Regions from separate parts of the Homo sapiens genome. Here all the other regions are linked to region 1. The links are contacts of gene promoters, found by promoter capture Hi-C in blood cells and fetal thymus (Javierre and others, 2016). All regions are on one chromosome and are shown on one strand. The core of a region is centred on a gene start or on the middle of the fragment in contact, and the rest is flanking DNA. Distances in the headings are between cores, read along the strand shown.

What was found. The method cuts DNA at HindIII sites, captures the fragments that hold promoters and counts their contacts. A CHiCAGO score of 5 or more calls a contact.
Region 2: a fragment that was not itself captured here is called in contact with the fragment with the promoter of KRT31 in region 1 in 7 of 17 cell types (M0 macrophages, total CD8 T cells, endothelial precursors and 4 more); the score reaches 7.3 in M0 macrophages.
Region 3: a contact is called between a fragment that was not itself captured here and the fragment with the promoter of KRT31 in region 1, in 10 of 17 cell types (total B cells, endothelial precursors, naive CD8 T cells and 7 more). The highest score is 8.9, in total B cells.
Region 4: a fragment that was not itself captured here is called in contact with the fragment with the promoter of KRT31 in region 1 in 13 of 17 cell types (naive B cells, total B cells, naive CD4 T cells and 10 more); the score reaches 10.8 in naive B cells.
Region 5: a contact is called between a fragment that was not itself captured here and the fragment with the promoter of KRT31 in region 1, in 1 of 17 cell types (naive B cells). The highest score is 5.3, in naive B cells.
Region 6: a contact is called between a fragment that was not itself captured here and the fragment with the promoter of KRT31 in region 1, in 3 of 17 cell types (total CD8 T cells, total CD4 T cells and total B cells). The highest score is 5.3, in total CD8 T cells.
Region 7: a fragment that was not itself captured here is called in contact with the fragment with the promoter of KRT31 in region 1 in 3 of 17 cell types (activated CD4 T cells, total CD8 T cells and total CD4 T cells); the score reaches 5.6 in activated CD4 T cells.

What each region holds. Positions count from the first base shown.
Region 1 is chr17:41,395,183-41,399,418 of GRCh38, reverse strand. KRT31 (keratin 31) reads left to right here and starts at 1,811. Exons shown (of 7, transcript NM_002277.3): 1 at 1,811-2,227; 2 at 2,424-2,506; 3 at 2,843-2,999; 4 at 3,796-3,957; 5 at 4,049-4,174. The coding sequence starts at 1,880. The HindIII fragment of the contact is 10,261 bases long and covers 1-4,236 here.
Region 2 is chr17:40,902,317-40,906,552 of GRCh38, reverse strand. The region is part of intron 1 of LOC105371777 (a long non-coding RNA gene); the gene reads right to left. Among named protein-coding and RNA genes, the nearest start is that of KRT20, 19 kb to the right of the region's middle. The HindIII fragment of the contact is 4,098 bases long and covers 3-4,100 here.
Region 3 is chr17:40,925,107-40,929,342 of GRCh38, reverse strand. It overlaps KRT23 (keratin 23), which reads left to right. Exons shown (of 9, transcript NM_015515.5): 5 at 736-897; 6 at 983-1,105; 7 at 3,769-3,989. It overlaps LOC107985072 (a long non-coding RNA gene), which reads right to left and starts at 740. Exons shown (of 4, transcript XR_001752886.2): 1 at 661-740. The HindIII fragment of the contact is 4,468 bases long and covers 120-4,236 here.
Region 4 is chr17:40,944,594-40,948,829 of GRCh38, reverse strand. All of the region lies in intron 1 of LOC107985072 (a long non-coding RNA gene), which reads right to left. Among named protein-coding and RNA genes, the nearest start is that of KRT23, 9.1 kb to the right of the region's middle. The HindIII fragment of the contact is 198 bases long and covers 1,756-1,953 here.
Region 5 is chr17:40,984,307-40,987,129 of GRCh38, reverse strand. It overlaps KRT40 (keratin 40), which reads left to right and starts at 2,804. Exons shown (of 7, transcript NM_001389244.1): 1 at 2,804-2,823. The HindIII fragment of the contact is 2,850 bases long and covers 149-2,823 here.
Region 6 is chr17:41,054,921-41,059,156 of GRCh38, reverse strand. KRTAP2-2 (keratin associated protein 2-2) reads left to right here and starts at 3,927. Exons shown (of 1, transcript NM_033032.3): 1 at 3,927-4,236. The coding sequence starts at 3,946. The HindIII fragment of the contact is 2,231 bases long and covers 1,253-3,483 here.
Region 7 is chr17:41,072,493-41,076,728 of GRCh38, reverse strand. No RefSeq gene overlaps it. Among named protein-coding and RNA genes, the nearest start is that of KRTAP2-4, 8.7 kb to the right of the region's middle. The HindIII fragment of the contact is 3,355 bases long and covers 773-4,127 here.

The DNA.
Region 1 (4,236 bases), core at 562-3,061:
GATTTAATTACACAACCACAGAGACCTCCTTTGGTACCTTTAGACCTTTGGTTCTTAAAGCAGGTGGCATCTCCACTCGGGCTGGAGATGGGAAGCCCAGGACAGAATATGGTACATCTTCCTGATGTATCCATTTCTCTTAGAGAATTAAGCAAAGTATTTGAAAGTTTAACTGGAAATTTAAAAGGGGCTTTTTAAAAACATTAAAGCTGGCTGGGCGCGGTGGCTCACGCCTGTAATCCCAGCACTTTGGGAGGCTGAGGCGGGTGGATCACGAGGTCAGGAGATTGAGACCATCCTTGCTAACACGGTGAAACTCCATCTCTACTAAAAATACAAAAAATTAGCCGGGCGTGGTGGTGGGCACCTGTAGTCCTAGCTACTCAGGAGGCTGAGGCAGGAGAATGGCATGAATCTGGGAGGCGGAGCTTGCAGTGAGCCGAGATCGCTCCACTGCACTCCAGCCTGGGTGACAGAGCAAGACTCCATCTGAAAAAAAAAAAAAAATATATATATATATATATATATAAAGATTAAAGCCAACATGGATATATTATGGAATATAGGGTCAATTCATATGAAGTTTAAAGATCAACTACAAGTGATTTCAGGCCGTGGAGGCCCCTTTGGGCTATCTCCTGACTTTCCTAACATATCCATCTACTCTGTTCGGATACTATGGATAACCTTAGGAAATGTTTGACAAAGACCTCCTTATTCCTTTCTCTCTGCCCCTGAATATCTTTCCTAGATTATTTAAATGCATTTTTTTTGTTTTGTTTTGTATTTTGAGATGGAGTCTTGCTCTGTCACCAGGCTGGAGTGCAGTGGCACCATCTCGGCTTACTGCAACCTTCACCTCCCAGGTTCAAGTGATTCTCCTGCCTCAGCTTCCCGAGTAGCTGGGACTACAGGTGGGTGCCACCATGCCCAGCTAATTTTTTTGTATTTTTAGTAGAGATGGGTTTCACTATGTTGGCCAGGATGGTCTCTATCTCTAGACCTCGTGATCCGCCGGCCTCGGCCTCCCAAAGTATTGAGATTACAGGCGTGAGCCATTGTGCCCAGCCTTAAATGTGTTTTTTATGGCTCTCTCGGTTTGCACTTTTCAGCCTCTTTCAAAACGATCTCTTACCCCAGAAACTTCTTGTTCTCCAACTAGTTATCAAAGCCTCTACCTTTAAAATTCTCTCCTCTACAATTTTCTTAAGTAATATGTGGTGGTGGGGGGGAAGTATTACACGGACCCGTAAAACACAAATCGCTGTCTAATCTTTTCAGTCGTGTCCTCCATTGATTCTAATCATCCACCTTAAGGCTTCCAAGGCACAGAATGCTCCATCATTTGAAGATTCTTCTCTAAATGCAGAGGGAAAGACAGTCCACTGTGGCCTCTTAATGCAACTTCTTCCTCAAATCAATCCGTGTTTCTCCCTAGAAACGGCAGGTGGACCAGGACATGAGTATGTTTATGGGCCTGCAGAATTATGTGACACAAAAGAATGTCATCGGATGGATCAACACCTCAATTAATGAGGGCAGATACTTGGGCTGGACTGTGTAGCCTCTTTGAAGGCCTACCACAGAACTCTGATTTCATGGGTGGACTGTCTGCGGAGGAGTCCTGACTTAGCAAGAAGCCCAAGTAAAGAATTTTATGGGAGAAGGGACTCTTCAGAGGAAGGCAAATAACAGACTGAAGGAAAGGGCGTTTGAAAAGAAGTGAAGAAATAAAAAGAAAAAAGACATTACATACTGTGTCCACACCCTCTGCAGTGGGATATAAATGCTCCCTAGAGGAAGGAGACCCACAGCTCTGTGGCTTGGAGAATTTAGACTCTGTCTTCAGCCAGGCACTCCCTCCCTCCCTCCCAGCACTATGCCCTACAACTTCTGCCTGCCCAGCCTGAGCTGCCGCACCAGCTGCTCCTCCCGGCCCTGCGTGCCCCCCAGCTGCCACAGCTGCACCCTGCCCGGGGCCTGCAACATCCCCGCCAATGTGAGCAACTGCAACTGGTTCTGCGAGGGCTCCTTCAATGGTAGCGAGAAGGAGACTATGCAGTTCCTGAACGACCGCCTGGCCAGCTACCTGGAGAAAGTGCGTCAGCTGGAGCGGGACAACGCGGAGCTGGAGAACCTCATCCGGGAGCGGTCTCAGCAGCAGGAGCCCTTGCTGTGCCCCAGTTACCAGTCCTATTTTAAGACCATTGAGGAGCTCCAGCAGAAGGTGAGCGGCATTGCTGTCATCTCCAAGCAAGAGAGTTTGCTGTGATTCTGTCTGTGATAGAGAAGTGTGTTTCTTGCTTCTGTGCTGTCATAATTCTTGCTTCCTCTTTTATTTCAAAATGGCTTAAGTCATTTTTAAAAAGTTGATGATTTCATATTTATTTTCAGTCCTCACTAAGCCACCTCTCACTCCCCAGATCCTGTGTACCAAGTCTGAGAATGCCAGGCTTGTGGTGCAGATCGACAACGCCAAGCTGGCTGCGGATGATTTCAGAACCAAGTGAGTTGTTCGGAATTTGCACTAGTGTCAATTGCTTCTGTTTAATCTTTAAAGAAAAGGGATTTCCATCTGAAAACAGATCTACCCACTTGTTGTGAAGGATTCTGCAGAGGACTGGGGAGAACCAAGCAAAGAAATGCAAAAATGGATGAGGACTCACATCAATCTGTTTGTTTTGGGATGAATATTGGGTATTGATGGAGCCTCCAGAAACCTCTGTCTCCTGGGCCTATTCATTACAGAAAGTGGAAAGATAAGGCACATGAGGTTATCAAAAATCATTCCTGTGAGTCTTGAAGATCTACCAGGTAGTACTCTGACCCTGTCCTTGCGCAGGTACCAGACCGAGCTGTCCCTGCGGCAGCTGGTGGAGTCGGACATCAACGGTCTGCGCAGGATCCTGGATGAGCTGACCCTGTGCAAGTCCGACCTGGAGGCCCAGGTGGAGTCCCTGAAGGAGGAGCTGCTCTGCCTCAAGAGCAACCATGAGCAGGTGAGACTAGAAATGAGAAATGCACAAACCTGTCTCAGCCTCTGGCTCAGGGTTGCTTTAGTGATTTGGGGCAGCAGAATGCAGAGTATGAGTACAAGACTGAGGGTTTCCTTTGAAAACATCACGGTAAGAGAAAAATTGGAGAGAGATAAGACCTGTTCATGTTCCCAGACAGGAAACATCTTTCACTTTAAACTAGCACATTATTTGAGTTGCCCGGAGCAGCTCCATGTGCTTGCAGTTGATCAATAGTTGTAGAATGAGTCCTAGCATTGCAGTGTTATTGCTTTGTAAAGTCTTTTTTTTTTTTTTTTGGCAAAGGCCAAGAAAAAAAATATCAAACCTTATAAATGTGAGTCTCTACTCTTTCAAAGTATTGGTGAAGAGTGTTTGTGAGATTCTTCCTCTCTCTTGGGAGGGGCCATGACATGCTCTTACCTCTTACTTGACAGCAAGAGTTTTTTGATATATGGTCTGAAATTGCACAGCCTATTTTTTTTGGCATTCTGAGGTCCTCACAGCCAATTGTAAACTGGGAAAGTTGAATATCAATTAGTTCATCCTTCAGTGGCATCCAAGCAAACTTTTGGGATTTTTTTCTGAAGCCAAGTGCCATGGCACAGCAGATGGTGGGGAGGGGGCTATGCCACATGGAGTGCCTTGAGCTGTCACAAACTGCTCCACTCAAAGTTTCTTTTCCGAGAAAATAGACTAACAGGGTTTCAACAAGCAATGCCATTCCTTAGAGTTCATTCTTTGCTGAGCATAGTAACTCTTGTATTTTCTGCATCCATAGGAGGTCAATACCCTGCGCTGCCAGCTTGGAGACCGCCTCAATGTGGAGGTGGATGCTGCTCCCACTGTGGACCTGAATCGGGTGCTGAACGAGACCAGGAGTCAGTATGAGGCCCTGGTGGAAACCAACCGCAGGGAAGTGGAGCAATGGTTCACCACGCAGGTGGGCATCTAAGCACGTGGCCCCTCAGGACCCAAGGCCCCCCAGGGCCCCGGAGGCAGGGTCTGATCCTTTCTCCCCTTGGGTGTTTCAGACCGAGGAGCTGAACAAGCAGGTGGTATCCAGCTCAGAGCAGCTGCAGTCCTACCAGGCGGAGATCATCGAGCTGAGACGCACAGTCAACGCCCTGGAGATCGAGCTGCAGGCCCAGCACAACCTGGTGTGTATTGTTCAGACCTGCTGGTGAGCGACGGGAACTTGGGAGGCAGAGTCCCGGGGATG
Region 2 (4,236 bases), core at 802-3,301, 490 kb after region 1:
CTTCAAGGTTTAGAAATTTTATTTTACCAAGGTTGGTCAGGAGCTAAGGGAATGGAGCCAGCTAAACCCAAGGAACAAGAAGCCCCCGTTCATTTACAATGGAAGTTGTCTTGCTGTTGTTTTGCCATTATACCATGAACCTGTCTTGGAATCAATGTGCCTGCACACTGAATTAGGTATCAGAAAATTGGTGATCATGGAATAAGGTAAAGGATTGAAAGGCATTTTTCTTAGGAACGCTTTTATACTGTTGGTGGGAGTGTAAATTAGTTCAACCATTGTGGAAGACAGTGTGGCGATTCCTCAAAGATCTACAACCAGAAATACCATTTGACTCAGCAATCCCATTACTAGGTATATACTCAAAGGATTATAAATCATTCTGCTATAAAGACATATGCAGACATATGTTTATTGCAGCACTGTTCACAATAACAAAGACTTGGAACCAACCCAATTGCCCATCAATGATAGACCAGATAAAGAAAATGTGGCACAGATACACAATGGAATACTATGCCGTCATAAAAAAGGATGAGTTCATGTCCTTTGCAGGGACATAGATGATGCTGGAAAGCATCATTCTCAGCAAACTAACACAAGGACAGAAAACCAGACACCGTGTGTTCTCTCTCATAAGTTGGGGTTGAACAGTGAGAACACATGGACACGGGGGGTGGGAGGCGCATCACATACTGGGGACTGTCGGGGCGTGGAGGGCTGTGGGAGGAGAGCATTAGGACAAATATCTAATGTAGATGACAGGCTGATGCGTGCAGCAAACCACCATGGCGCATCAATACCTATGTAACAAACCTGGATGTTCTGCACCTGTACCCCAGAACTTAAAGTATAATATAAAAAATAGAAAGACATTTTTCTATGGAATGTGAAGGCTACTTCAGTACCAAATAACAGTCTCTTGTGATGAGAGCACCATGTCTGCCAGGCGGCATCTGTTGCACAGCACTCTGCTGTGTCTTCCAGCCTCTGCCTCGTTCCCACTTCAGCCGGGCGTTCCTGCTTACATCTGTGGCAAGCTCTCAGCTAGCTTCTCCTCCCAGACTGAGAATCCTCCTAAACTGCACCTCTTGCCATTTACCCTCTAGGGGACAATAGACTTCTTCATCTTGTACCTGGGTGATACCAGGCTCTCAGAATTCCTAGGGATCAGAGGGGTGGGTAGAAGGACAGGTGGATCAGGTAGATGCATGAAGAGAGGCAACGCCAGTTACTCAGACTCTGCCTGGGCTACCAGAGTCCTGAGCTTCTTGCCCCCATTCGGGAGGTGTTAGGGGTCTCACTCCGAATCATTACTAGTTTGTTCTTTAGCTTTTATTTCCATTTCTTCCGTGTGTGTGTGTGTGTGTGTGTGTGTGTGCTGCCACTGATACTACTTTTCCCTCTCAGCGATTAAAAGAAAAAAAGATACATTTGAAAAAGTGGTGTATTATCTATTCTGTTAATATGATGTCAGTATTTATGAGGTGTGGTCTTTGTGCCTCTTTTTAAAGATATAAGGAATTACTCCATCGCCAAAGTTCGGTGGCTTCTCATATCACAGAGTAAAAGGCAGGTTCCTTGCTGGATGATGGCATCCACATCCCTCACCATTCACCTCCGAATTGCTGAGGTCCTTTCCACCACCCTCCCTTCCATCCCTGAGCACCCCCACATCCCCACTGCTCCACCCACACTCACACCTAAACTGCTATAGACCTTTGCACCTGAGCTGCCATATGGCTCTTTTCTTCCTGCTGTCATTCAAATACCACTCTCACAGGGAGGCCCATTCTCATCTCTCTACACACAAGGGCAACTTTCCCAGCCCTCCCCACCCTTCCTTTTTCTCCTCTGACCTACTCCCTTCACCTCTAGCTCCCACCCCTGAATCTAAGTTCCGCCAGGGCAGAAACGTTTGTGTTTTTTTAACTACTGTATCCCCAGCATCTGCAACAAAACCTTGCACACACTGATATTCACACAGACTTGTGAATTCATGAATGAATGCGTGAGTGAATGAATGAATACATCATATACTATACAAGGTTCATAGTAAAAAATAGCAGCCCCTGGTGTCCCCACTCCTGAATGTTTCTCTCTGAAATCTTTTAGCTATTGTTTCTGGTATTAACCTGCATATCTCTAAGGAATATGCTTACACTGCTATTTCTTGTTTTATCAACTTAAGACGTTAAAGACCGGGCACGGTGGCTCACGCCTGTAATCCCAGCACTTTGGGAGGCCGAGGTGGGCGGATCACGAGGTCAGGAGTTGGAGACCATCCTGGCTAACACGGTGAAGCCCCGTCTCTACTAAATATACAAAAAAAAATTAGCCGGGCGAGGTGATGGGCACCTGTAGTCCCAGCTACTCGGGAGGCTGAGGCAGGAGAATGGCGTGAACCCAGGAGGTGGAGCTTGCAGTGAGCCGAGATCACGCCACCGCACTCCAGCCTGGGCGACAGAGCGAGACTCCGTCTCAAAAAAAAAAAAAAAAAAAAAAAGAAGACATTAAAGACCTAAATCCCCATTGTAGAAGATGGCATCACAGGATTCTTACACCATCTCACACCTCCGGTTGCCATTTCTCTACCTTTCCAGTGTGATTACATCACATTGTCTTATAATTTACATATATATTATCTGTATGGGGTTTATATCCCTTTGCTAGAATGAAGCCTTGTCAGCAGGAATTTGTGTTTGTCTTGCTCACGGAAGTATCCTCATGGCCTAGAACAGTGCCAGGCCCTCAGCAGGTACTGAGTAAATATTTGTGGAGTGAATGGATGAATTCTGAGATTTATGGGCTGTGACTTATCCACCAGTTACTCATCGCTGCACTTTAGGGATGCGTGGGCCACCTCCATGTCCCTGTGCTTTTCCAGCTTGGACTCTCCCTCAAACTCTGCACTTTCAGGAAAACTTCAATGACTCCCTCCCACCCAGCTTTACTTGGGGATCCTTCCTCTATATCCACAAATCTTTTCGTGAACATTATATATAATTCCCGATTAGTCACCGTCTCCGGCTAGGCTGCCGCCTCCTCGGAATCATGGACTGTGTCTTGATTTCTGAACCCTATTGGCTATCACAGCATCCCACCTATTGTAATTGATTCTCAAGCAGCTATGAATGAAGGACACACAGTCCCTGCTTGCCACTTGGAGGCAAGAAAGAAACGACATCTTCCTGTTCCTGGTGAGCCCTAGGGTGAGTCACTTCACCATTTACAGAGATAACATGTGGCTCGATTGCTTCTTCTTTCACTCTTCACTTCCCCAGGTTAATAATTGCCAGATCATGTCATACTCTTTATTTTTTCAACCATTTCACTTCTTGCCATCCCTTTCCATGTCCAAATCTCCCTCAGAAATAAAAATAAATTTCAAATTAGTCAGAGCATCGTGACTTCTTTCAAAGTTAGAATTACTGCCTTATGAAACATGTGATTCAATGTGGGGCTCCGCTTGACAAGATCAAGCATTCTAAACTAAAATGTACAACCAGTGGAAATATCTTCCTGCTCCTCGACTACTGATACTTTACAGCCATGGTTCTCCAACTTTACCATGCATCCGAAGCACTGGAAAGACTTGCTAAGATGGAGCCACAGATTGTGGGGTCCCACTCCCAGAGTTTCTGAGCCAGATAATCAGAGTCTGGGAATTTGCACTGCCACAAGCTCCTGGGTGCTGCTGATGCTGCCAGTCTGAAGCCCACACTTTGAGAACCCTCGCTTTCCCATAATGCTTCAAGAAGTCTTAGGCACTAAGTTGATGCACCTGTGAAGGGGTTAGATTTCCCTCCTCCCTTCCCACCACCGCCAAGATAAGTAGTTGCTGAGTGCAACATTACAGCACTTCTTAAACTCTAATAGGCACACAGATCACCTGTAGATCTTGATAAAATACAGATCCTTATTCAGCAGGTCAGTGGTGGCGATGGGTGTGGGGTGTGGGGGTGGCCTGAGATCTGTAATCAGCCCCCAGGTGAAGCCAATGTGGCTGACTCTCCGCCTAAACTCTGAGCTGCAGGCATTACAAATTATACCAAGTCCATTAGTATTAAAAGAAAGTGACTTTCTTAGGTCTCAAAGCTTTGAGTAGTTTTTGATTTGATTCAGGCATTTGATTCAGGTCTGAGCTCTGAAACTACTAATATACTTTCTTTTTTCCTCATGAGTCATCTTGAGAATATACTTTTATTCTTTGTTTAACATTTTTACAACATAGAA
Region 3 (4,236 bases), core at 1,104-3,603, 470 kb after region 1:
TTGGTTTTCATGAAATCCTATGGGCGTCAGCCCTACAGTGTCACAAGGCATTGATGAGATTTTGAAAGCCTCTACACCTTCTTTCTGCTGTTTGCCTCTTGAACTGCTTCCCAAAAGCTTTGGCCTATAGCCTGTAAGGTTCAGCTGCTTAACTATGTTGTCACTTCACCAATCCACATCTGCTGAACAGGACTTTGCACACTATGGAAGCATAATTCTTTCTGAAATATTTTCAACCACGGATCAAGTCAGTAATCATGGAGGCTATTTGATTACCTGCCTTATGATATTCTTTTTTTTTTTTTTTTTTTTTTTGGAGACAGGGTCTCACTCTGTCACCCAGGCTGGAGTGCAGTGGCGCAATCTCGGCTCACTGCAGCCTCCACCTCGCAGGTTCAAGCGATTCTCCTGCCTCAGCCTCCCAAGTAGCTGGGATTAAAGGTGTGTACAACCACACCCAGTTAATTTTTTGTATTTTTAGTAGAGACAGGGTTTCTCCATGCTGGTCAGGTTGGTCTCAAAGATATTCTTTATTTTATAAAATTATTAGAGAAAAAAGTATACAATGTTTTATCACCAACAAGTAAGTAATATTTGAGAAACCAAACCAGTGACAGTGGGAGCAACCACATAATCGGAATGTTTAAAAGATCTATTTACCACTGCCAATCAACATGGCAATCCAGCCTTCTGATTGTCAAAGCCGGTTCATTTCCTTTCTCTGTTATTAAATAGGAAATGGAGAAGCATCATGTGCCAAGTGACTTCAATGTCAATGTGAAGGTGGATACAGGTCCCAGGGAAGATCTGATTAAGGTCCTGGAGGATATGAGACAAGAATATGAGCTTATAATAAAGAAGAAGCATCGAGACTTGGACACTTGGTATAAAGAACAGGTAAAAGAAAGATGCACAAACTTCCCAAAGGTTGCATTTCCATGAGGTCCCAATGCTGACGCCTTTGCCTTGCTTGGTCCCACAGTCTGCAGCCATGTCCCAGGAGGCAGCCAGTCCAGCCACTGTGCAGAGCAGACAAGGTGACATCCACGAACTGAAGCGCACATTCCAGGCCCTGGAGATTGACCTGCAGACACAGTACAGCACGGTGAGTCAAGGCTAGGAAAACCGTGAATCCCACACCACCTCCTTCACGAAGCCTTCTGAGACCTCTCTCCCAGGCCCTGACCCTCAACTCCCTTGGGACAACTCTCACTTTCCACTTTCCATCCAAATTGTTTATGATGAGAACCATAATAAAGGGCTACCATGTATTGAGTGTCCCGATGGTGCCAGGCATTGTGCTAAGTAGTTCATGATATTAAATGTCATTAATCCTTACAGTAACCTTCCCAGATAGGTCTTAGTGTCCCCATTTTAGAGATGAGGAAACCAAAACTCCAACAGTAAAATAAATTGGCCAAGGTCACACAGCTAGTAAGTAACTGGTGATGAAACCATATGATTTATTTGGAGGAAGGGGGATTCTAGACCCCCATAATTTCTATCAGTGCCCTCTCCACTTACAACCAGGCTACCCCCCTCAAACCCCAATGTAGAGAAATTCCAGTGCCAACATGGTAGGTGGCAGATCCAGGCCTGGCTAACTCCAAAGCACTGCCCTATTCATTTATGTATATGTCTTATCACCCAGAAAACTCTAAGTTCTTGTGTCCAAGTCATTTCTATCATCTTCACAGTTTAGAAAAATGCTTAGCATGGTCATAAGCATTCAAAATTTATGAAGGTCTATCATTTGATTCCCAGTATACCCTATTGAGTCTTCTAATCATTCATCCATATAATTGCCAAGTGCGATTCTACCCTCAGTCTTGAGAGGCAATGATTTGTTCATTTATGTTGCAGGTGCACTTGGGTAAATGACTGCTGTGTTTTATGCATCCGTGATGGTGAACAGACACTGCAAATGTGCACGTAGAGATCATGAGTACAAAAATAATTATAGTGCAACTTTCAAAACGTTTTAACATACAGTATTTCACAATGGCCCTGTGAAACAGGCGAGGCATGTATACCCATTTTCATGCATTCTACTATCTGACACCAATCCTTAGCACTGAGGATTTTTTAATGAAGGAGTTTATATTCTAGTAGGAGTGACAGATAATAAATGTGCAAATCATCAAAATATATGTTAGATGGAGAAAATTGCTACAGAGATGAAGCAGAGGAGGAGGGCAGATGCACCAGGGTGAAGAGCTGCTATCTTAAACAAGGTGGTCAGGAAAGGTTTTCCTGTTAGAGTGGCAGTGAGCAAAGAGGTAAGGAGGTGCTTGATGTGGTGATGGGATGTGTTCCAAGAGGAGGGAACAGCAAGTGCAAAAGCGACAAGGCACAAGTGTGTCTGATGAGTTGGAGGAGCAGCAGGGAAGTCCATGTGGCTACAGTGAGTGAATGAAGGGAAGAAGAAAGGAGAGAAGAGGAGGGGAAGGGAGGGGAAGAGGGAGGAAGACAGGGTGAGGCCGCGGAGTCCCAACAGAACCAGACAGTGTAGGGCTTTGTAGGCTACCTTGGAGGGGTCTCAAGAGGAACAGCAGGCATAGACAACTCTTTGAGGAGCTTTGCTGTAGCTGAAGGAGAGCAGAGAAATTGGATGATAGCTGAAGGTAGATATGGGTTTAAGAAAGATATATTTTAAGGTAGGAAAAATTATTCTATTTGAAAGCTGGTGGGAATAATCCAGAGAGAATATTGATAACGCAAGAAGGCGGGCAACTGCCGAGATGACTGGAGCACAGACAGCTCACACAAAAGAACAGAGGGAAGCCAGCACCCAGATGCAGATTCAAGTATGTGCCTGGGAGCAATGTAGGGAGCAGTGGGCGGTCTCTCCCGATTGCTTTCATTTCATCAACAAAATTAGGAAGCGAGGCCATGGACTCCGAGGAAGGATGGCAAGGACAGAGGAGAGGGAACAAAATAACCTCCTGGGAGAGTAGGAGACTGGCTGACCAGGGAAATGTGCTTTAACCGCCAGGCAGCATGAACGGCCCCCTGAAAATTAGCAGCCACGATAAAGGGAGAGTATCCAGCACAGTTAGGAGATTCTCTTTAAGGTTAAAATTATGCGCTTCAGAAAAGCAGGTGTTACATGCAAACAGAACTGGGACTTGAACTCAATCCTCCATATTCTAGCCCAGAAACTTCATTTGGCAGCTGTTAGAATTTCCTCAAAAAATGACATTTTTTTTTTTTACCATCGTCATAATCAAAAAGCATTGCTTGAGACTAGGGTTGCCAGATTTACCAAATTAAAATATAGAATACTCAGTTTAGTTGGAATTTCAAATAAAAAGCAATTTTTTTTGCATGTCCCATGCAATACTGGAGCAATATTTTGGACATAGTTACACTAAAAAATTACTCATTACTCATCTGAAATTCAAATTTAACTAGATGTTCTCTATTTTATCTGGCATCCCTAATTGAGACCCTTCTCCGAAGATACAAAGAGATAGCAGTCCCAGTTGCTGTCGCTCTTTGGGAGTTTTCAATCAGGTCAAAGATAAAATGAAAGGAGTTAAACAACAGTTCAGAGCAAGGCAATGGACTTCAAAAGTCCTAACACTGCTCAACTCCTGACTGCCCAAGTCCCAAACCTGTAAGTCAGCCTACTTCTCATCTTGGTGTCCTCAGCAGCTACCAAGACACCTAGCCAACTGGTCGACATCTGCTAAGTACTCAACAATCACCTGTTATTGACTCAATCAAGCCATCAGTTAATTAACAGAAGATCATTTCCTCTTTCAGAAATCTGCTTTGGAAAACATGTTATCCGAGACCCAGTCTCGGTACTCCTGCAAGCTCCAGGACATGCAAGAGATCATCTCCCACTATGAGGAGGAACTGACGCAGCTACGCCATGAACTGGAGCGGCAGAACAATGAATACCAAGTGCTGCTGGGCATCAAAACCCACCTGGAGAAGGAAATCACCACGTACCGACGGCTCCTGGAGGGAGAGAGTGAAGGGTAAGGCAAAGGCTGGCACGAGAGGAGCATGCGAGGGACCTCCAGCTCCTGTGGGTATATGTGTGCATCTTTGGGTTCTGTTAGCAAGAGTCACTCTAGCAAGAGAAAAGTTGTGTTGAGCTACTCCAGAAGATACCTATAGCTGGCTGTATTTCACTAAGCAGCAAGTATAATTAATCAACTAATACTCACAGGACACTAAGATTTGCAGTCAGAAGAGTTAAAGTCTCTAGAAGGAAACAATTCA
Region 4 (4,236 bases), core at 605-3,104, 450 kb after region 1:
TGTTCGTTCGTTTAGTAGAGACAGGGTTTCACCATGTTGGTCAGGCTGGTCTCGAACCCTTGACCTCGTGATCCACCCACCTCGGCCTCCTAAAGTGCTGAGATTACAAGCGTGAGCCACCGTGCCCAGCCCCTCTTCCACTTTTAAAGACATTATGATTATCTTGGGCCCACCTGAATAATTCAGGATACTCTCCCTATTTTAAGGCCAGCTGATTAGCAACCTTAATTCTACTTGTGACTTTAATTACCTTTTTGCCAAGTAACATCAGCTATTCACAGGCTCTGGGTATTAGGACCTGGGCATCCTTCGGGGACCATTATTCTTCCTCCCACACCAAAGGAAACAGAGAGAGGGAGGGGAAAAGAGACAGCCCATGTATTATCTCTCTAAAACCCCAAAACCAAAACTGGAGTAAGCAATAAAGTCACGAGTGTTTAAATTCACGAACCAATCAAGCTTCCCGGTTGTACTTCAACCCTCAGGGAACATTCTGACATAAGGAGAGCATATGTTTAAGGCTATATCTTAACTAATAGTTTGAAGATGTAAACATACTCCATAACCTTGTGGGGTCATCTCTTTAGAGCAACAATAATAACAATTAACATTTACTGAGTGCTTCCAATGTGCCAAAGTGTTAAGTGTTCTCTATGTGCATTTGCTATACAACTACCCATTTTGCAGATGAAGAAAGTGAGGCACGAGAGGTTCACAGCCAGTCACACAGATAGTTAGTGCCACAGCCAGGATTCACACCCAGGACCATGGGACTCCAAATCCTGCACTTTTAACCGTCATGAAAAACTGCCTCTTCCTCCTTTTTTTTTTTAACCAATATACACTTTGCAATAATTTATTCCCTAATTGACAGAGCTAGAAGGAAAAGACCAGAGTGGGACCTAACCAAAGGCATTTGGAAATGGCTTTTACCTGTATTTGGAAACTCAAGCCTTCCTAGGGAAGAACTATGAGTTCACTGCTAGGGTGGAAAGAGTGCCTGCCCTAAAATAACTTTAAACAGATAACATGATAATAGTAAGAATAAAATATAGCAAAACAAAAAATTGGGGATTATGTTTAGGATATAATTTATATAGAAAAGTGAGATTTTAAAAGCCACAAAGCATATTAAAATAAATTCTGTAAGTTTAGAACACTCTATAAAAATATATATGACTTCTCAGCAAAAGTATCCAAAACCAGAACATAGATATAGGCTTATTTCACCTAGCTAAAATAGAGTATTCTAACACACTCACACATACACACACAAACACACACAGACACATTTTCATAATAGTATCACTGAGTACTTTTTAATGTATAATGCATAGATTATCTCCTTTCGTTTCCACAACAACCCCATCAATCAGGGCTGAGTATTAATCTCAGTTCACAGCTGTGGAAATTAAAGACTGAAGAACTGGGTAGCAATGGCAGAATTGGGATGTGAACTGACAGCTGGTAACCAGGGTATTCATCAGCATAAATCTAGACTGAGCTTTACATGGACTAAGTTTATAAAATGTAAACTCCTGAAGTTCCTGTTTCTCCTTAAGTTCACCTGGGGACAGAATTATAGCTTTTAGGCTAGACTTTTTCATCTAGCCCTTGTGACTTCCTGACAACTTCATCGGTCTCCCCTCTGTCCAGACTTGTGGGATCCTGACTTCAGGGTGGAATACGGGTGTTTTTTAATCATTCTCCTCCTCTGCCCTCATCTCTGCACAGCAGTCTACAGATTACAAAGCTTGTATGTGTACCCTACAGACCTATTACATAGCTTCTGTATGTATATTACATACAGATTACATGTATCATGTGTGTACATTGCTTGAAAATTACATAGTTCAAGTATGTTTGTTACATACCAATTATGTGGCTCATGTATGTAAAGTACACACCTATTACATAGCTAATGTATATATATTACATGTAGATCACAAAGCTTATGTATGTACATTAACTCACTTGCTCCCCACAACAACCCTCTAAACTACAAGGAAAATTATTGGCAGTCTCATTTTCATGGTAAGAACTTTGAGACCAGAGAGGTTAATGTTGCTAGGTGGGTGGGTTAACGGTAGAGCGTGGACTTTAAACCCCTAGCCCAAAATCCTTCCCACTAGTCCAAACTGCAACAAAGATGCAGAAAATGTCACCATCAAGAAGATCTTCAAAAATTAAAAAAAAAAAAGTTTTAGTTAGAATAACAGAGCTTTGAAAAGCAAATATTCCAAACCAAAAGAAAGGAGGGAAGGGAAAAGAAAAACCTGTATCGCAAACTAAAAATCGAGTCGTGATTAGTAATCTACGAGCAGTAAAATAGGTAATGAGAACAGCATTCACGCATATAGAAGGGAGAAACCTAGAAGTAAATGTGAGAAGACACTGTACACATGGGTAAAGTCTCTGTAAGCACATGGGTGAAATACGAACCAGCAGCCATGTAGGGAGTGGGCTCTAGGGCCCCTTTGCCATTAACTCACTGCACAACCTTAGGCAAGTCTTCCTCCTTTCACTGCCTTAGTTCTTACATCCATAAGAAAAAGTCCATCGTGGTAGTTACTTGTCCATAAAGCAAGTTGAGAGCCTTGAACAAAAAAATATTTTGGCAAAACATATGATTACTCCCTGTCTAAAAGCCTACTGAATAGGACACATATCAAACATATACAGTTTAAGGTACCATAATAGACACCGTGTCTATTATGCAATCCTCTCGAATAACAAATGCAGCATATACACACCACAGGGTCAATTTATTGACATAATAATAGTCAATTTATTATTGACTATTATTATGTCTTCTTTCTCACGGCAGAAAAGTAGTTAATGCTGTGCTCTTACTCTAATATCCCTGAATATCTTACTAAGTCAATCAAAATTAACAAGCAAACTTCCATTGTCTCTCCTCTGGACAGGGGCAGTCCCTTCCTGGCCATCCCCACCACTTCACTCTCACCCTCATTCATTCTCCATGAGACAGCTAGGGTGATCTTTTTGAAGATCACAGTGCAGTACTCCCCTGCTTAAAATCTTCATTTTCCACATCTCTTGTGTTGAAGATCAAAATACTCAGCAGAGCTGAGAAAGCCCAGAACGACCCTGTGTCCTGTGCGCCACCAGCGTCCTCTCACCCTGCCCTCCTCCTCACCTTCTCTGCTCCACACAGGGTAGGCATTCAGTAAATACTTGTTCAATGAATGAAAAGGCAAACAATGGGTTTTTTGTGTGAACAATGTATTAAGGTTTGTTTCTGAATAAGAAGCAACATTGGCCGCATGCAGTGGCTCGCGCCTGTAATCTCAACACTTTGGGAAGCTGAGCCAAGCAGATCTTTCAAGGTCAGGAGTTTGAGACCAGCCTGGCCAACATGGTGAAACCCCATCTCTACAAAAAATACAAAAAATAGCAGGGCATGGTGGTGGGCGCCTGTAATCCCAGCTGCTCGGGAGGCTTGAACCTGGGGGGTGGAGACTGCAGTGAGCTGAGATGGCGCCAGTGCACTCCAGCCTGGGCAACAGATCAAGACTCTGTCTCAAGAAAAAGAAAAAAAAGAAAGAAAGAAAAACGAAGAAGAAGCAGCAATATTTGAGTGAACCAAACAAATACATGATTGAGTTTCAGGCAGCAACAACTATCAAGTGGGGAAGAATGCTGGGAGCAAGGACCTTCCAACAGCCTTGCATACCCTTGCCCTGCCGCAACATGAACCACACTGAGCTAAAGGTAAAACCTATAAGGACAAGACTTCAGCAAATTGCATGAGATGATGTTTCAGCTACCAACACCACAGCTAACTCAAAACATCTCCTCCTAAGGCAAAAGAAAGTAACGCCCAGCGAGGACTAAAGCTAACACGCAGGTTAATTCCAGGATCACTAACAACAACGGTCTTTGTGTAAAGGATTTATTTGATTACCTATCATGTCCATCAGATTAAGATAATCATAAGGAGAAAAAGAAGAGTGAAGTCGTTTCAGCTTTGCAACAGCACTTCCCACCCATTTGCAGGGATCTGTTTTTCCTGCTGTTGTGTTAAGGGAATGAAATCACTGCACAGGCCTTTTGCACAGAGGCAGTGCAAAAGGATTTAAGGATCTTTCTAAAACCAGGCTTAAGTCAGAGTGTTCTGGCAGTCCTTTGAAAGAAGTTATCTAGCTGAAACATCACTTGCCTCCTCAGAAAGGTTTGGTGTCAGCTGGAAAAGGAAGGAAGCTGGAAGGAGGG
Region 5 (2,823 bases), core at 324-2,823, 410 kb after region 1:
GCAGAGATGCGTGCAAAGTGCTCTGGGAGGAGCCACATCTCCACATGAGGCAGTTGAACGACGTTTCAGCTGAGTCTTGACATGTGAGTTCATCCAGGAAACGAATAGCAGAAGAGCATTTGACCAAGAAAATAGTACCTACGAAGCTTGAAGGATGGCTGGAGCTTAGGGTTTGTGAGACAGAACATCAGGAAGTGAGCCCAGAAAGGTAAATTGGCACCAGGTTAGGGAAGGTCATATTTGCCAAGGTAGAAAGTTTGCATTCCATAAGTGGAAGGCGACAAAAAGCAGGTTTGTATTTTAGGAAAATGATTCTGGCAGCCTAGGTGGATGTTGTAAGGTAAGAGCATAGTATTATGCAAAATAAACTACCGTGTTGTTGTCGGTTTTTTTTTTTATCATGGCCTTTCATGATGTCTATTTCTTTTTCTCTATTCCCAATGTTCCTTTCTTCTGGTGATGATATGCTATAGAAATTGTCACGGGTGATTAGCAACTATCTGGGGCTGGTGGCATGGGGGTAAGAAGAATTTATCAAGATAGTTGTAGGTAAAGAAAGGCAGATATATTAGAGAACGTATGAAAATACGTTGCAAGGAAGCAATGGGCAGCACAGCAGAGAAGGGGCTGTCTGCAAGGAGACAAAGGCGTGCTGGAGATTTTACAGGATGGTGCTTGTACTGTGTGCTGAAGAGGGTTTGTGTGGTACTGATAACACTAAGGTTGCAGTGAGCTAAGTTACATTTTTCTATCAGCTGAAGGTCTGGTGATAGCTGGGTGCAGGAATATTGTGCAGGAGGGCTATGTGTCCTGGACCATGAAGAAGGTGAGTCTTATACATTACCTGCTTTCTTTCTTTGTTTTTTGTTTTTTGGTTTTTTTTATTTATTTATCACATTGTGCAGGTTAGTTATATATGTATACATGTGCCATACTGGTGCGCTGCACCCACTAACTTGCTTTCCTCTGGTCCTGCCAGCCTGACTTCTTTTCCCTAAGGAGGACTCCACAGAAATGAATTCTGGGTGATTTCTATATTCTACGATGGAGACTATAGCTATAGATCATTATACAACACTACCTAATTAATCAAGACCAAAATAAATAGTCCTACCTGCAGGACAATAACCAGTAACAAATAATTTACAATTAGAAATTAGTTCCAGACAGAAGGAAATATTTCTTATTTTACCTGCACTTACATGACTGCATTTTAGCTAACTGGAGCCTGTGATGGACAACCAAAACATGGGTTTTCTTCACAGATATTTTTCTTTTGACTCATTAGGTTACTGTGAAAAGATAATTTTCTTTCAGAGATTTGTAATTTTTCAGAAGTGTTTTTGAATCCTTGAACTCATATTTGTTGCAGAGCAGCGTCAATATACCATGAGACACTCTAAGAACTTTTTGCATAAGTGTTGATGTGTAAAGAGAATCACTAAATTCAAACCCAGCTCTGCCCAGGGAGTAATAAATCCTAAGAGACTATTTTAACTCACTTACATATGTTCTTCTGGTTTGGTTTGGTTTGGTTTCTACTATCAGGTACCTAGGAAGTAGCACTCAAGATTAGGAGAAAAAATAAGTTTATTCTGGATCAAAAATTTTTTAACTTTTTCAGATTAATCTGTTTTTTTCCTATAATGTTCTTAAAAATTCTAGAGACAATTTTCTCTATGCACCTTTGAAAATGAAATAAATGTAACGACTAAAACCAAGCAAAGTGAAATAGATTATCCTTCACAATGGAGGTGAAATCCAAGAGATAATTCAAAAAAATTACGTATCTCAAGTTCCTGTCTGTCAGATTTGGCACCAGAGATTTCATCCAGTGGAATTACTGATTTGGAACCTAAATAGAATTTTATTTTCCAAGTTCCAGTATTTTCAATTTTCATGAAATTCAGGCCTTCATAAATAAATAAATAGGAGAAAACAGGCTCTACATCTCAGAAGAAAAGATTCCTGTGGGTTCCTTGCCCCTACTCTGAAGTATAATCATTAAGGAATTCCCAAGGGACTAAAAGGTTATAACTTAGAATTTATATTTCACTCTTATTAGGAATACAGGTAAAATAGTATAACTTATCTAACAATAAGCAATGAGAAATGTGGAGAAGGCAAGTTTCAGGAAATCAAAGATCATAATTCCAGCTCTAACCAATTTATATTTTAGCCTGCAGAAAAACAAGTTATTCCTATCAGTTATGTAAAGTGACTTTTCCATTTGTACGCAGGTAGACATGGTTTGCACACACACACACACTTTAAACCCAATATATAGCTCACTCCTCCAGTCTTTATCAGCACATGCTCTGAGATCACAAAAAGCATTGAAAGATTACTAATCACACTGACCATTTTTATGGTGGTGGCACAAACAAATAATTGTCATTTTGTGAGCTGTAATACTAATTTTAAAAGGGGACACAAGCAATCAATCCACAGAATCAAAATCTGTGGACATATTATTTTCCTGATTTGTAATGAGTTGTATCTATAATTATTCATTGGCCAAATTTTCTCTTTCTTTTATTATTCTGTCAAAAGCACAATGCTTCCTATGACGATTTTCTGAAATAAGTGTTTTGTCTTGCACATGGAAATGGTGTGGGTCCTGCTTTGGTAACCTAAAGTTATCCCTATTTTATGAGGCATAAAACTCTTCCTCAGTAAATAAACAACTCTAATGAGATGTTTGTACGAAAACTGGCACCATCAGTGATAAAGAAAACATCCGGTGCAGTCTGTAAACACCCATTTTGGGGGGTTATAAAACTCTCAGGAGAGGAGAGTTTTGGAGTCAAGGCAACTGAAGTT
Region 6 (4,236 bases), core at 1,119-3,618, 340 kb after region 1:
GGAGAGATTTTCTAAGGGCCATTTTTGAGCTTTAGAATAGGAACAACTCAGGTGGAAGGTCTATAATTTTAATAGCATTTCAAATAAATCTGATCATCTCATGATTCACCTTCATATTTCGAGTCGCAGGTTTTATGGTGATGCTGACGAAATGGTGAGACTACAGTAGGTCTCTGTAAACATAAACTTGACTTATGAATAATTCACACACATGATAAGGGGGAGGAAGTCTAAGCTAAGTTATAGCCCTATTTGTTCACCAATGTAGGAAACTGTACGGTAATTGATGTCAAACAAGACCTGGGAATCCCTAGCCACTGAACATCCTATGCTGGAGGAACCACTATCCCATCTTCTCCATGGTTCCCGTCAGCACCACCATGGCCAGTTCTACTTCCAGTGGAGTGGCTGCTGCTGAGAAGACAGGGAGAAATGAAGCCTTGGTTGTAATCATCCTAGTTTTGAGCTCCGCATACATCTTAACCATTTAAACAACTGCAATGCGGTTGAAATGCTGATAACATTAATCCATACTGCATATATTTTTGATTTTGTTAAATACTTGTATGTTGGTAAGGAAGGCTAACCACTATCATTTTCCTGATAAATATCTTTTTAGTTCCTAGCATGTGATAGAAAAGAGATTTCTTTGATTGTTCAGCATGTATTCCTGGGCATATCTACCTGCCCATTGAGAGAAGTGAGGCAAGGGAAGCTTTGTGAGGGCAGGGGTCTTTAGTCTTTTTAATTTAAATTTATTTCAAGTTCAGGGGTACATGTGCACGTTTGTTATATAGGTAAATTGTGTGTCACAGGGTTTTGGTATACAGATTATTTCATCACCCAGGTAATAAGCATAGTAACAGATGGCCAGGTGCAGTGGCTCAAGCCTGAAATCCCAGCACTTTGGGAGGCTGAGATGGGTAGGTCACTTGAGGCCAGGAATTCAAGACCATCCTGGCCAACATGGTGAAACCCTGTCTCTACTAAAAATACAAAAAGTAGCTGGGCATGGTGGCATGCGCCTGTAATCCAAGCTACTCAGGAGGCTGAATCAGGAGAATCGCTTGAACCTGGGAGGCAGAGGCTTTGGTGAGACAAGGTTGCGCCACTGCACTCCTGCCTGGGTGACAGAGTGAGACTCTGTCTCAAAACTTAATTAATTAATTAATTTAATTAAACAAAAGCATAGTAACAGATAGATGGTTTTTTTATCCTCACCCTCTTCCCACCATCTGCCCTCAAGTAAGCTTCAGTATCTGTTGTTCCCTTATTTGTGTCCATATGTACTCAATGTTTAGCTACCACTTATAAGTGAGAACATGCCGTATTTGGTTTTCTGTATCTGTGTTAGTTTGCTTAGGATAATGGCCTCCAGCTTCATCCACATTGCTACAAAGGACATAATTTCCTTTTTTATGGCTGTATAGTATTCCATGGTGTATGTGTACCACATTTTCTTTATCCAGTCCACCCTTGATGGGTATTTAGGTTGATTCCATATCTTTGCTACTTTGAACAGTGCTGCAATAAACATATGCATGTATATGTCTTTATGGTAGAATGATTTCAATCCCTCTGGGTCCATACCCACTAATGGGATTGCTGGGTTGAATGGTAATTCTGTTTTAAATACTTTCAGAAATTGCCAAACTGCTTTCCACAATGGCTGAGCTAATTTACATTGAGGGCCAGGATCTCGACTAACTTTGTTCACTACTAGATTCCCACTGATCTGCACGATATTTGGCACATTGAGTATAATCAGAAATGATGTGTTGAATGATAAATGAGTAAGTTCTAAGGGGATTGGTTAAAACAGAGAAAGACATTATCATTCCATCCCAACTCTCAACTCATGCTGGATATGCATATTCTTAAAATAAAACAATAAACCAATCATGAAGAAAGATCTTTTTTCTGGAAATATGGTAAAAGTTTCTCAACAAGAAGACTGTTATATTCAAAAACTTTACATTTGCAGTACGTGCACAATGGAGTTTTATCTTTTTTAACGGTTTGGTAATTAACCAATGGATAGGCTCACAAGTCTAATTTCTTTCTATATATTCTTGATCACTGTTTTCAAAATTCGTTAAGTACATCTGTTTTTCTCCTCTCAGAGTTTTTCTTGTTAGCCTTCTAGAGACCTCCTTATTTAAAAGTGTTTTCTCAAATGGACAATGCCTTGTTTCCCCTCAAACCTATCATTATTATTGGATCTCATTTATTCCCACAGTCACCCCATTCTCTGGTTGGCTGAAGTGGCTGGTGCAGATCTGGGTAAGCCTATAAGAAACCATGCAAGTGGTGTGATCAATAAGAATGCTTACACTTGAACCTTCAACTTCAGATCTATTAGGCTGGTGCAAAAATAATTGTAGCTTCTGCCATTGAAAGTGCCAAAAACCACAATTACTTTTTGCACCAACCTAATAGAACAGTCTTAGTTGTAAAGGAAAAGGTCAGAACCAAGTAAATTAAGAGGCAAAGACTCAAAAGTGATTGAGTGACATAATTTGCCTACAAGTCATGACAGTTTGAAACAATTAAAAATGACAATTGGTTCCATAAGCAGAAATGAGCCCCAGCATAGCACACAGGGAGATGTTGAAGACACTGAGGTATGGGCCAGATGAGGCCCGAGAACACGTTCAAGTGGGATCACTACTGAAGGGTTTTGTTATACCGCAAGACTGCAACCTTCCTCTACATAGACTTGTTTGACTTCCTCACCATATTGGTGGCTTTGTTCACAATACCCCATAATCATTCAGTTATGCCCAACTATGACACTATCTCCTTAGGGTATGTTTCGACATTTTCAGAAGGCTGAATAGAAGGTAATTCTTCCCACTCCTGAGGCTGTTGGTAAGACATAGAGTCCTTTCAACCGACTCTAAAAATTAGACATATCATAAATAACAACTGTTTTCAAAGTAAATACACTGTAAAAGCTCCTAAATAAAATAGACATTCCTTAATACCTGGGAATGTGGTACCTACAATCCATTCTTTAGCTACAGTGAGTTCTTCAGCTTTTTGGGCTGATAAATAATGTTCCCACAGATATTTCTGGAATGAGTATTGGCTCCAACACTTACTAGGTACATGACCTTGGGTAAGTCACTTATCTGGTTCCTTATGTGTGAAATGAGAAATAAACAATATCCACATCCTAAGAATGTTATGAAGATTAGATTAATGCATGTATTTTTTAATATGATGCTTGGAACATAGTTACAACTTAATGATACTGGCTATCATGAAGATTACAGTGAAATTTACCTTGGTCTGGAAAGATACAACCATAGAAATCAATGAACATATCTCTAAGACAAAAACCACTGGATGATGGAAACCTACTAAAATGCATTCTTGTACCTCCAAAAAGGGGACAGGAAAATTCTTCTTTTACTGAGAAATCCTGACTTTTAAACTATCCCTGTAGTATTATCCTCAACTTGTTTTGCCCAGGAAGCTTAGCAGTGGCAAAGAATACTAACAACTTGAGATGCTCGCTTTACTTCAACTGCTAGCAAGTAATAACCCTCAGAGCATGCAGAGCACAACAGCTGCTTTGAGCTATCAAAACAGCAACTAGCAAAAGCGTCATTGAATTATAACGATAATTGGAGACTTTGAAGTTAGGGTCATTAAATTCATATTTGAACCATAAATAGCAAAATATAATGGGTCTACACTAAATAAGGAAAATAGACTTTTATGTGTACCTGAGCATCTAAACAATGTCTACAAAACTTACTAATCTGCTGGTGTTATTTCAGGAAGAATAAGTGAAAACAAGGAAATGACCTTGTGTCCTGGGGGTCATCAGCTCCCAGCCAGCGTATATAAAGGGCCCAGAGGGGGAGGAGGACATTCACACCTGAGAACATCCAGCTCCTCTCCACAGCCCAACCCACACCAGCCTCAGACACCACCATGACCGGCTCCTGCTGCGGCTCCACCTTCTCCTCCCTGAGCTACGGGGGAGGCTGCTGCCAGCCCTGCTGCTGCCGCGACCCCTGCTGCTGCCGCCCCGTGACCTGCCAGACCACCGTGTGCCGCCCCGTGACCTGCGTGCCCCGCTGCACGCGCCCCATCTGCGAGCCCTGCCGCCGCCCGGTGTGCTGCGACCCCTGCTCCCTGCAGGAAGGCTGCTGCCGCCCCATCACCTGCTGCCCCTCGTCGTGCACGGCTGTGGTGTGCAGGCCCTGCTGCTGGGCCACCACC
Region 7 (4,236 bases), core at 1,201-3,700, 320 kb after region 1:
TTTGAGACAAGACTTCTTTATGTTGCCCAGGCTGGCTTCAAATCCCTGGGCCCAAGGGACCCTCTCACCTCAGCCTCCCAAGTAACTGGGACTATAGGCACAGGCAACCATTACACCTGACTCCTTATGTTTTCTCATTTGTCTTTCTAAAATTTTTCTTCATTGAGTGGTAGATCTCCTGAATTGATCCTCTGTGTTATTATAGTTTCTTTAATGTCCATTTCTTTCACTTCTTTTTATAAATTTTTTTACATATCTTCAAGACAGGAGAACAAATTATTTGACTCCTTGTTCTACTTTACCTTCCAAACATTTTACTGAACGTTTTTCTAATTTTTTCTATCACATTTTAATTCTCAAGCTTTCACTCAACTTCTCTGACTGCTCCTGTTTCTTAGAATCTTGTTTTTATTTCAAACAGAATTTCTTCTCTTAGCTCTCTTGAGTATTTTATTTACAATAGTTCTTGTTTTACAATTTTTTAGTTCTATTCTGCTCCCTGTAGTTTCTATTCCTGTCAAATTTGTTTTTCCCCCTTTTTCTTTTTTTCTTTTTAAATTAGTGTGAATTGTCAGGCTGGAGACATTTCCCAAGTGTCTGAAGCATATTGGTTAACATGGCACTAAAAAGCCAATTGAAAGTTCTGTGTGGACAGCAGGGCTTGTTAATTGATCTCTTCACCTCTCCTCCCCTTCATCCACAAAAAAGAAGTCAAGATTTATATGTTTAGTTTCTTTAGAGGAGAATCTTCCAATATCCTGCTTGGAAAGCTTATGGCCATCAGTCCTGGATGCTGAGCACAGTACTCAGATTTTCACTGCATGAGTCTGTTTTCTGTTCTATTCTTGACTTTTGTTCACTTTAGTATTCCCAAATCTGGAGTCTCTGTCACTAAATTTTCTGGAAGATAACCCTTGTTTCTCCTGGTTGGAAGTGGGGGAGGCCTAATGACCAACTTTGTAGGGTGGGGTAGGGATCCAGGGGTCGAAGCATCCTGCTGCCTACCCTGCCTTCAGGGGTATTACCTGGTGACTCCGGGTTCTGAGCCTTTCTGAGGATTCAAGGAAAACCAACTTTACACTCTGTGGTACTCTCTCTGTATGCATTCACATTGTAGCTCCTTTTGTTATCTTTAGTTGACCACCATTGCTCTTGCCCCAAATTTGCTACACTTTCTTATCTGCTATTGTCTCCTGTCCTGAGAAAGTAAGATGAGGGTTTCTGTTTTTTAACACCTTTTAAAAGTTGGTGTATCATAATGGATTCAAAGAGGATAAGAGGACATAAAAGTTAATTTTCTGACATTTTAAGGACCTGCTATTACTAAACTGTTAAAATTAGACTTAGTATCTCATATATACACTCCCCCTTAAGTGTTCCTGAAGTAAACTAGTGCCCATGCTCCAGATGTTGGTGAGATTCTTTCTCTGTGTTTCCAAAGCATGTTAAATAATCCTGAAGGTTAATTTTATTTTCCAATATTTTATTCACGCCTAAACTGCATTGAAGGGCAAAAAAAATTGTGGCATGCCTGTGGTCCCAGCTACTTGGGAGGCTGAGGTGGCAGGATGGCTTGAGTCCAGGAGTTGGAGCTTGCAGTGAGCTGAAATGGTGCCACCACACTCCAGCTTAGGTGACAGAATCAGACCCTGTTATTTTGATCCACACAAGCTATTGGTCATGTGTGAAGGCAATGGAAAGATTTCCTCATAGATTCAAGGACTCGGGATATATAACTTCCCTTTAAAATTCCTTTAAGAAATATTCCCATTGACTGAAATACAAGTCAAAATAAAGAATTCCATTACAGTATAGATGTCATGCATAAAATAATGGTTCTGAGAGATGAAGCTGATAAAATTTAAAAAGATTCAAATATATTCTAAAAGTGGTAGGGGATAAAAATAGCAAAGAATACACAAGTGGTAGGCAAATTAAAAAATGGGGTAACAATACCTATATTTTCTGGTAATAAAGTGGGTGTGGTGGCTTGCACCTGTAATCCCAGCACTTTGGGAGACCGAGGTGGGTGGATTGCTTGAGCTCAGGAGTTCAAGACCAACCTGGGCAACATAGTGAGACCCTGTCTCCACAAAAAATACAAAAATTAGCTAGACATGGTGGTGCATGCCTGCGGTCCTAGCTACTTGGGAGGCTGAAGTAGCTAGGGGAGGTTGGCTTGAGCCGTGGAGTTGAATTTTGCAGTGAGCTGACATGGTGCCACTGCACACCAACTTAGGTGACAGAGCCAGATCCTGTCTTTTAAAAAAAGGAAAAAATTCAAAAATGAAGATAACATATTTATAAATGTTTATGTGCCATAGAAGAGATCATAGAAATGAATAAAACAAATACAGTTTTGCAATATGCAGATATGACAGAATAGGCATCATTACTAGTTTGAGGCTCTGATAGATTTCTCAGGCCTAGGTACTTAAGCAATACTGAAACGAGAAACAGCTTGTATAGACCATTTATGGTCCTGGAATAAATTGAAGAGGGATGCCTGAGCCCAAAGATACGATTCTCACGTCGCATTACCATATCAATTTCTGAATATGTTGTTTTGAGTTTTGTGCTTACTTTACTTTTTTATTTTCCTCTTCAGCTAAAAGTTTTGCCTAGAGCTCTTGAGCCTACTGATATCATTTTGATTGATATCATTTTGAAATGGAAGGAAATGGCTTGAAAAGACACAGGAAATACAATATGAACTGAACTCCCAATGCAAAAGGGAATCTCAAAGTTATAAAGGAAACACAGGTAGCTGGGTGACTTGATCCAGGTCATGTGGAGTGAGCCCTAACCTTTGCATGTCTCATAGGTAGACCTGCATGCAAACTCTGCAATTGGAGCTTTAATGGAGCATGAGTGGATGAATATCATTAATGGGTCAGTGAAGCATCTCAAAAATAGAACTCAACTGCAATTCCAATTTGGTTTCCATCACTTTCTTTCCCATAATGACGTGTTTCATCACTCATGCTCGCTGATTTTCCCACTGACTCTATGGCTTCAGCCTAAAATTATGCCTCTTATTTTTCCATAGAACTCACCATGAATTAATCTTGACATATCCCTCCTCCTTAAAAGGACTATAATTTTTTAAATGTCTTTTTAATAAGACTACCCTTCATAAAGATATAAATATTCGGCTGTGATCTGATTCTCCTTCACATAATCTTACGTGTTTGAGACCTGTGCATGTTAACCTGAATTTTCAGAATTGACACATTTTATTTCTATGAATCAATCCTTACGTATGTATTACTTTTCTCCAATAGAATAGAGTCCTTTTTCTCACTAATATTACCAACATACTCTCCCTGACATATGCATTTAAATTAAATTCATGATTAATTGAATTAATTGAGTGGAGAGGGAAAGGAAAGAAAAATAACTTTCAGACCACGTGTGGTGGCTCACGCCTGTAATACCAGCACTTTAGGAGGCCGAGGCAGGTGGATCACCTCAGTTCAGGAGTTCAAGACCAGCCTGATGAACATGAAGAAACCCCGTCTCTACTAAAAATACAAAATTAGCCGGGCATGGTGGTTCATGCCTGTAATCCCAGCTACTTGGGAGGCTGAGGCAAGAGAATCACTTGAACCCGAGAGGCAGAGGTTGCCATGAGCTGAGATCATGCCACTGCACTCCAGCCTGGGAAACAAGAGCGAAACCCCATCTCAAAAAAAAAAAAAAAAAAAAATCCATGATTATGTTGTGAGTTACCTAAGGGAAAAGAAGTGGGTCTCATTCATTTTATGCAATTCCCAGAGCCCAATAGCTTGCTAATTTGTTCTTAATTTAATTACAGTAAAAATTGAGTTCTTGTTTTGTCTCAATAAACTTGATGGCAGGTAAAGTGAGCAATCTGTTTTGGATTAAAAAATGAATTATTTGGCATTTTCTCTAATACAGGCTTTGGCTGATACATATAATATCAATTTTTTTGTTATTGCCCATACAATAGGAACTCAAACCATTTTACAAATAAATAATCAACAGTAAGAAATACTGAAAGGTCACAAATGTTTTTGATACCAAGAGAGTGTTTATTGAGATATAGTTACTCTACCAGACGTAATTCATTGCAAAGTCCAGACCACACTCGGCAATTGTAAGCTTAGAAGCCTGTTCCAATGAAATAGTGTGAGATATCTGGTCATCTGACTGCACACCAAGCATAGAAGTTGGAGGTTTTGTACGATATGCATTTAAATTTTTGCTTTTAAA